Linked DNA regions of Homo sapiens: region 2 is linked to region 1. Evidence: promoter capture Hi-C in 16 types of primary human blood cells and fetal thymus (Javierre and others, 2016). All regions are on one chromosome and are shown on one strand. The core of a region is centred on a gene start or on the middle of the fragment in contact, and the rest is flanking DNA. Distances in the headings are between cores, read along the strand shown. Region 1 holds the start of SF3B4 (splicing factor 3b subunit 4). Region 2 overlaps OTUD7B (OTU deubiquitinase 7B).

The links. The method cuts DNA at HindIII sites, captures the fragments that hold promoters and counts their contacts. A CHiCAGO score of 5 or more calls a contact.
Region 2: a contact is called between a fragment that was not itself captured here and the fragment with the promoter of SF3B4 in region 1, in 1 of 17 cell types (M2 macrophages). The highest score is 5.6, in M2 macrophages.

Annotation. Positions count from the first base shown.
Region 1 is chr1:149,926,553-149,931,154 of GRCh38, forward strand. It overlaps SF3B4 (splicing factor 3b subunit 4), which reads right to left and starts at 1,251. Exons shown (of 6, transcript NM_005850.5): 1 at 1,174-1,251; 2 at 614-742; 3 at 1-366. The coding sequence starts at 1,207. MTMR11 (myotubularin related protein 11) reads right to left here. Exons shown (of 17, transcript NM_001145862.2): 14 at 4,240-4,413; 15 at 3,813-3,995; 16 at 3,071-3,364; 17 at 2,099-2,765. The coding sequence ends at 2,577. RefSeq lists enhancers at 1,048-1,427, 2,562-2,631. The HindIII fragment of the contact is 3,542 bases long and covers 1-3,357 here.
Region 2 is chr1:149,958,454-149,963,055 of GRCh38, forward strand. It overlaps OTUD7B (OTU deubiquitinase 7B), which reads right to left. Exons shown (of 12, transcript NM_020205.4): 7 at 1,231-1,343. Among named protein-coding and RNA genes, the nearest start is that of MTMR11, 24 kb to the left of the region's middle. The HindIII fragment of the contact is 2,620 bases long and covers 1,285-3,904 here.

The sequences.
Region 1 (4,602 bases), core at 1-2,500:
CATAAGATACGGTGATAGGACGGTTACAGAGGTACTGCCCATTCATGGCTTCAATTGCTGCATCCGAAGCATCAAATGAAGCAAAATTAATAAAGGCATAACCTTTGGAGTTGCCTGTGTCAGGGTCCCGCATAATTTTGGGGGTTTGTAAGATGACCCCAAAGGCGCTGAAAGTATCATAAAGCAACTTCTCATCAATCTCAGGGTCCAGGTTCCCAATGAAAATGTTGGCCCCTACATCCAGGTTTTTGTTGTGAGCTGATGCTTTGTTCACCCGTATTGGCTTCCCATAGAGTTTGATCATGTTCATGATCTTAATGGCATAGTCAGCATCTTCCTCACTCAAGAATTCCACAAAGCCATAGCCTGGAAAAGTGGAGAAGAGGAGGTTAACAACGTAAGTAAAGAGACTGAAAATGGGGTAAAATTCATCTACCCTCTAATCACAAAGAACAAGAAAGAAACAACATCACTTTACTTAAGAATGGTTCCAGAAATAAACTGAAGAGAGGCTTAAAAGAAAAAAATCTTTAGGTTGCTCATGTTATTCCAAAACAGTTGTGAATACTGCTGGGACCCTCCGGGAGCAATTCGCCCCTTGTCATGTACTCACCTTGGTGCTGGCCAGTGACTCTATCCTTTGGCATGTGGGTGTTGACTACTGGTCCAGCCTGGAGAAACAGTTCCCACAGCAGCGGTTCACTAACCTTCTCATCCAGGCCCCCCACGTACACAGTGGCATCTTGAAGGGAGGGAGCAAAAAGAGCAAGCGTGAGAGTGTAACGGGAAGGAAGGAAGTGATGGAAACATGAAGATGGAACCCAACCAGGGGAACTGGGGACCGCGGTAGGGGACAGGAGCAAAAAAAAAAGTTTAAACCCTTAAACTTCTCTCTTCCCAGGACTTCGGGAATCCTCTGAAGTCTAATTTAGTATTGTGAGTGGGTTTTTTTGATTTTTTGAGTGAGAAGTCAGCAGGGGACCGGACTTAAGTATCACACCCAGAGGCCTCAGCCAGCACCCGGCCACCCCGCCCCCAACAGGCAGAGGGCCGGTCTCGCGCCCTCTGGGGAAGGGAGGAGTCCAGTCTCCCACCCCTGCAGAGACACTGCTGGCTGTAGTCGGGGCCTCCTAGCCACGCTGAGCCCATTCCAGACTTTCCCCCTCCAGTTACCCTGATTCCGCTCGGAGATCGGCCCGGCAGCCATGGCGAAAGAGATCCCGCCGTCTCCCAGCAGCGGTTCCGCCTTCTGACCTCAGCACGACTTCCACTTCCGGGGCGAAGACGGACGTAGCGGTGGGCGGGGCCGCGGAAGAGGAGGTGCCTGGAAGCGGCTGCAGCCATCTTAGGAGCCTCCGAAACTTAACCTGGGTCGGGCGGTAGAGTCCTCGGCTCGCGTCCTGAGGTGCCGCTGCTAGTTGTCTTAGCGAGGAGGGCGGAACGGAAACGCTCAGGCCCTCTTAATGCACTGCTAGACTTGAAAGAATCACACTGCTCTCAAAAGTGTAAATTCGAAAGCTAAAAGAACAAAAATTTCAGTTTTAATATATTTTGTGGACAGTGATTCTTCTTCTGTTGTCCAGAGAAGGATGTGCTGAAGAGTTCCCCCCAACCCGAGGACTTGGGGGCTTTCAGGCGCAGAGGGAGCCTTCCCTCTCGCCTGCAGCCTTCTTGCAGATTTGGCCTCACAACCCTGATTTGGGCTGGAGGTATTTGGTTTTCCCTCAGGGGAGGAGACTGCGAAATGTCTGAGCTTAGAGTGACGTCTGCGCTCACCTCGTCCTAATTGCATGGGGAGGGTGAGGGCTGCTCCGCGTTGGTGTGTGACCACAGCTGAGGGGTGGATGGGATCGGAGCTCTAGAGTCTGGATCTCTAGAACACTCTGGCCCCATCTGCCTCTAAATGGGAGACACACACAAGAGAACCCTTTCCCCAAATTGCACTTGAATTTTGCAGAGCCTCACCAAACCCAGTTCCCCTATTTCCTTAGCAATAATATGGTGGATGCCTTCCTCTCTTGGGTCATACACCCCTTTTACCCACCACTTTCCTACCTAGGAGAATCCTTTATTCAAACACAAGAAACAATGCCAGCAATGTGTATAAATACTATGCTTTAATGAGCCCCTTAAATAGAAATTCCACTACAAAAATACAGAGGAGATAGGGTGTTTCCTGTATCCGCCTCATTCCCATAGAAAACTATAAGGGAAGAAATAGAACTTGGAATTAAAGCAGCAGCAAGGCGAGGTGAGAATGCGATTTCTAGGCCATCTTGTTGGGACTGATGAACAGCATCTCTGATCTCATGATTTAACATCTGGTTATCCAGAAGGGATGGGATTGGCCTAAAAAAACCGATCAATTTCTGGATTGTTTTTGTTTCTTAATCCTTCAAATGACAAGAAGCAAAAATATTTGTAGAAACTAAGCAAGACAAGAGTTGGAGCAGTTAACACCACTATCTGCAGCAGAAACTCAGACCTTCTTAGTGAACTTAAGGGCTGAAGTGTGAAAGCTGAGGCTGCAAGTGCAGATACAAAAAAAAAAAAAAAAGATTAGACAGAACCCTCCTCTACCCCAGATCCCCCTCTGCCCTGCCTTTGAGAATGCCAGCAATTTCAGTGGGATTGAGAATGGTATGTGGATCTCTTTTCTTGGAGTGATCCTCAGGAGATATTCTTGGTGTCCATTTCCGTAATAACTCCTGAAGATGGGATAGCTCATCCTGGAGGCCAGAGATTGTGGGAGCTGAGAGGCCCATCTGGGGAGGAGGCAAAGAGGAACAGAGAAGAATACTGTTGTAGCTCTGGCCCCCTGCTTCTCTGCTACTTCTGGTGTCTTTAATTCTGTTTCCCCTTTCAGCTATGCCCTAAATTCCACTTAATCTAAGCCACAAGCACTTTCCCGCACCTCCTACACTCCCAAACCTTGTTTGATGCCAAGAGGAGTAGAACTTCACTTCCCAGACTCCCAGAGGCTTCAGCTCCTTGCCTTTCCAGCTCCTGTTCATCTGGTTCAGCAGAGTCAAGTCCCTTGTCCCACTCCCAGTCTATTTTCCCTTCTTACCTGGACCTCAGGCCTTCCCCTCAGGTAGCAGCGTCTCCAGAGCCTGATCTGGGGTCCCAGATACCCAGGCAGCAGCAGCCCTGGAGGTAAAGGGCAAGCTCCCCAATGTGAGGGGAGACCCCATTCCTGGTCAGCCAGGCTTTCAGAGGAGATAGCAGGTCGAGGGAGCCAACGAGAAGAGACTGCCAGCAGGGAAGGACTGTCCCGCCAAGGACAGAGCTGATTCAGGGGGGTCAATGCTCCTCTAGAGAAGAGCCACACAGAACTGGGGGGTCCAGGAACCATGAAGCTTGGCTAAAAGGAAAAGAAAATCAACTGGCAACAGAGAGACCAGATAACCCTAGTTTCCCCAATCTGGATCAGGACAGGGTGTCCTGCTGCCACCCACTCACTGCACTGGTGACTAGAACTACAAGCCTCCCCATGAGAACTCTTCTACCCTCCTCATTAGGCTTCAACTAGGCCTCGGGACTGATTAAGGTTGATTTTAGGGCACCTTATGTGTGCACGAGACAGGAAGATGAGTAAACAGACTTGAGGAAGGACAAAAAGGGTGCCCTCTGTGCTATTCTAGGTCTTCTGTCTTCCTAGGGACACCCAGGGACTATAAGTGACAGCTGCAGAAGAGTAGTGGAGTAGCTTTCCCTAAGGAACTCAAGACATTTTGTCTTTCACTTCTCACTGTCTAGTAGCATGAGCCTGTGGGAACGTCAAGGGAATTTAGGAAGTTTAGACACTTCACCTGTGGTCTAGGGAGCCAGGAATCTGGACAGTGTTCTGGGTCATAGCCAGGATTCTGGAATTGTAGTATCTGTGCATTGCTATAACGTAAATCCCAGTCCCAGACAGACAGCTGCAGGTTAAAAGAGTTCCCAGCTGGAGGCTGGGAGTATCCTGGGGTGTAGACTTGTGTATAGGAGTTTAACTGGACAGAGGAAGCAAGAAAAAGGATGGTTACACACAATCCTCCCACATCTAGAGACAAATCATGAGATTCTCACCTCTTATTCTAGGAAAGATGTAGGGCAAAAGTCTCGTCCTGAAAATGAGAATAAATCTCCCCCTCCCCACTCACAGACCTCACTTCTCATAAAACAAATCAAGACCAAACTTCAGAGAGTACATCTCAATGGAAAAAAAAACACGAGTCAAAAATAGAAGTCACTGACCTGTCCGCTCTGCTTTCCGCGCTCCCAGGGGGTATTTCTCAGGAAGGTAAGGGTGTCAGGAACCCTGACACTGTCATGAAGAGCAAGAAGGAAAAACTCAGAGAATTCAAAATCAGCTGGAAACTGCTGGAGGAGCTGCCAGACACAATCAAGGAAGAGGAGAAACACCGGAGCCTGAAAAGAAATTAAGAGGTTGGAAGGGATTATTGGGACCCAAAGAGGGAGGATGACGAGATGATAAGGGAATGGGGAACACAGGGAATAGGGGGAACTTATGGAAGTCAGGGAATGAAAATCTGAATTGAGGGTAGCAGGGGCTTGTAAGGCCTCACTCATCAGGATCTTCGTCCCAGCCTAACCTCG
Region 2 (4,602 bases), core at 1,345-3,844, 33 kb after region 1:
AGTAGCTGGGATTACAGCCGCCTAGCACCACGCCCAGCTAATTTTTTGTATTTTCAGTAGAGACAGGGTTTCACCACATTGGCCAGGCTGGTCTCGAATTCCCGCCCACCTCGGCCTCCCAAAGTTCTGGGATTACAGGCGTGAGCCACTGCGCCTGGCCAGGACTACCTTTTTAAACAACCACTATACCATTAATATCACATTTTATAATTTTAACAATAATCAAACACAGAGACATTGTTCACATTTCCTTAATTGTCTTATGATGTCCACACATCCCAACTGGTTGATGTCTTTTTTTTCTTTTAGAGACAGAGGTCTCTCTTTGTCACCCAGGCTGGAGTGCAGGGGTGCTGTCACAACTCACTGCAGCCTCGACCTCCCCAGCTCAGGCAATCCTCCCACCTCAGCCTCCCAAGTAGCTGGGACTATAGGCATGCACCACCATGCCTGGCTAATTTTTTTTTTTTAAGATGTGGTCTCACTGGCCAGGCATGGTGGCTCATGCTTGTAATCCCAGCACTTTGGGAGGCCAAGGTGGGTGGATCACTTGAGGCCAGGAGTTTGAGATCACCCTGGCCAAAATGGTGAAACCCCGTCTCTAATAAAAATACAAAAATTAGCTGGGCGTGGTGGCATGCATCTGTAGTCCCAGCTACTTGGGAGGCTGAAACAGAGAATCACTTGAACCCTGAAGGCAGAGGTTGCAGTGAGCAGAGATCACACCACTGCACTCCAGCCTGGGCAACAAAGTAAGACTCTGTCTCAAAAAAAAAAGAAAAAAAAGAAAGAAAAAGAAAGGGGGTCTCACTATGTTACCCAGGCTGGTTTCGAACTCCTGGGCTCACACGATCCTCCTGCCTCAGCCTTTCAAAGTGCTGAGATTACAGGTGTGAGACACCACACCCGGCCTGATATGTCTTTTTAGTCCATTTAAACCTACAAGTTCCTGGTCCCTTTTTATTTTCCTTGCAGTTTACTTACTGAAGATACTGGGTCATTTGTCCTGAAGTTTCCAAAGTCTAGATGGGCTACTTTATATTCCAGTTCAATACCGAACTACCTGTAGTTCCTAAACATATCATGTTGTTACACACTTTTGTGCCCTTAGCATAGTTCCCCTCTTTCCTTCTAATATCCTCTTAGCACAGAGCTCTCTAGACACTGGGCTGTGGAAGCCCAGTGAGGACTCTATGCAGGTTTCCTCCTCCCCTACTTAGCCATACTTACCCACCACAGTTGGCTCCATTGGTACCTAGATGCATTCGGGGTTCACTTGAGGCAAGCTTGATCAGTTCATTCCACTCCTTCTGCCATTCATCTTCTGTGTATACCAGCCCTGACTGTGTGAAGGACAGGCAGGGGACATTGGGCAATTAGAGGCTGGGTTCTAAGAGGCAATACCTATTCCACCTTATTCACTGTTACTTACTCCCTAATCCCTTAGCACTTGGTTTACAAATTGTACTACAAAGTCAAATCTCTTATCTCTTTTACAGTCAAGATCCATGAACTAATAGTCTATGACTATTAAACTTCTTTATCATCCATTCTTTTTGACCTACTGCAATCTGTCCCATTTCTGCCCTCCATCCTGCTCACCCACCTGCCACATAACATTTCACCTACCTGATTTTGGCAAAGAACAATGACCTTCTAATTGCCACATTCAGTGGACCCTGGTTCCCATCTTAGCCTTCACATGGGTTATTTTCCTCTTTAAATTTTCTTTGCCATTAGCGTCCATAAAATTACTTTCTATTCCTCTAAATTCTGTCTGCCCCCAAAATACTAGTGGTGTGTCAATGATTTTCACCTTGGTTCCCTCTGGGTGATCTCTTCTACTGCCATAATCTCATCCACTACCATCTGTATGGTATATACCATCTATCTCCAGCCCAGATTTCTTAATTTCTTTTCTTTTTCTTTTCTTTCCTTTTTTTCTTTTTTTTTTTTTTGTAGACAGAGTCACCCAGGCTGGAGTGCAATGGCACAATCTCGGCTCACTGCAAACTTCACCTCCCGGGTTCAAATGCTTCTCCTGCCTCAGCCTCTCGAGTAGCTGGGATTACAGCACCCACCACCAGGCCCAGCTAATTTTTGTATTTTTAGTAGAGACGGGCTTTCCCCATGTTGGCCAGGCTGGTCTCGAACTCCTGACCTGGTGATCTGCCTGTCTCAGCCACCCAAAATGCTGGGATTACAGGCATGAGGCACTGCACTCAGCCTAGACTTCTTAATTTCTATATTCATATATCCAGCTACCTACTGGAGACTGCCACCTGCCCATGGCTACCTCAAACTCTGTAAAGTCAAAATAGAACTCCTGTTTTTTCCCAAACCCACTCTTCTTCCTATTTTCCTACCTTAGTGAATAGCACCAACTATCACCCAAACATCCAAGCTCAAAACCAAGGAATTATCTAATATTCCTTTCTTTCTTTCACCCACCCCACACCTGGATACCTTCTTTTTTTTTTTTTTTTTTTTTGAGACAGAGTCTCACTCTGTCGCCCAGGCTGGAGTACAGTGGAACGATCTCAGCTCACTGCAACCTCCACCTCCCGGGTTCAAGCAATTCTCCTGCCTCAGCCTCCCAAGTAGAAGTGCTGCATACAAAGCCTACTTTCTGGCCCCTACCCACTTCTCTAGTCAGATATATCTCACTGAATCAGCTGTAGTTCCTGAAATATACCATGTTGTTTTATACCACTGAGCTTTTGTCTAAGCTGTTCCTTCTGCCTGGAGTAGCTCACTTTCTGTCAACCTTGTGAACAATTTCTCAACTTTTAGGACAGAACTCAGGTATCATTCCTCCAAATAGTCTTCTAAATCTCCCTTGGCAGATCAACCACTCCTTCCTTTGTATCCTCTCTCCCTAACTGCTATAGAGTTGTTGTTGTTTTTTTGTTTGTTTGTTTGAGACAAAGTCTTGCTCTGTCACCCAGGATGGAGTGTGGTGGCATGATCTTGGCTCACTGCAACCTCCACCTCCCAGGTTCAAGCAATTCTCCTGCCTCAGCCTCCGGAGTAGCTGGGACTACACGTGCACACCACCATGCCTGGCTAGTTTTGTATTTTTAGTAAAGACGGGGTTTCACCATGTTGGCCAGGCTGGTCTCGAACTACCAACAGGTGATCCGCCTGCCTTGGCCTTCCAAAGTGCTGGGATTACAGGCATGAGCCACCGCATCCGGCCAGCATTAACTGCTATAGAGACGTCTATTGTAAGAGTCATACATGTTATAACCTGTTGCAATTATGTATTTACATGTCCATCTCCTCCTCTATGCTAGGATCATGTTTTATGCAATACACCCAAGGTCTATTTTGTGACTATAATCAATAAACATATGCTAAGTGAAACTACAATTTTTATCAAAGGAGAGCAGGCAATGGTACAAGCAATTTTAAAATACATTGGCTTTAGGATGTATATAATGATAAGGGAAATAAGTTTAACTTATTAATTTTATTTGGCTGACATTAGTATTAAAATGAGTCTATACGGCTTAACCGCACACTGACAGAGTAGAAGGAAATCACTGGAAACATGAGGGGTACTGGGAACAAATTTAATGGGAATTTTTTAAATGACACAGCTATTTTCAATTTGTAAAATGCTATCACAAATTTTACTTCAATTAAAAATAAAGAGAGCAATGCCCAGGTTCTATATGGAGTGCTGCAGTCACTCCAATAGACACATCCAGATCCGGCTCCCTCTTCCTGGCCGGTTTCTGCTTCCTGTTTTAATGTACACAGCCACTAGGTGGTGTACAACTTCTAGCCTTAACATTTAAGAAACTATTACTGAGCCTCACCACCAATTTCAACATAAAACAAGGAAGCCCAGGAAATCAAAACTTATTTAGTGTGGTTTTGGTACTGGGGAGCTAAAGGAAGCTTCCCCAGTTCATTATCCTCCTCCTACCATTCCCACTCCCAAGGTGGGTAATAATGCTATGAATGGTCTAAGCTAAGACAATTATGAAAGCCACATTTTCAGTATGAACTTTCACTGTGCTGAGCAAAAGGACTAAAACTATTGCTCCATTACTAGCCACTATTCTCTATGCATGTTGGGGACTTTCAGATGGAAAGGCTGACTTTGAGAGGGAAAGGCTGGCTGGCCAAGGATAGAACGTGGGTATTTCTGGGTTTCCTGGCTAAATACCATTATAATCTAACCCCATCTTTAGAATAATAACTAATTGCTTTAATAACTGGAATTGGGCACACTTAATTTTCTGGGTGTTGCTGTCATTTCTACTTAATAGTTGGCATGTTCTGGTTTGGCCTTTTCTTGCCTCTGCAGTGGTTAAGGTTCCGGTATTATCTGAACTCAACAGTGAAGAGGACAAAGCTGACTACCACAAAACTGACTACTGATTTGCTCTGGATTCTAAATTCTAGGCTAGCTCTAGCTCAGGCAAAAGCTTTCCACGAGATCCAGCCAAGCTTTTGGTGCTAAAAAAGAATGTCAAGTACTTATGTGGCCTTGCCCCTGTGGGTTTATTTCCCTCAGGAATCTTCTGGGGAAGACTGGCTGCTCAAGGAGAGGATTCTGATCTTAATATCATCTACTTTTAACAACTGGAT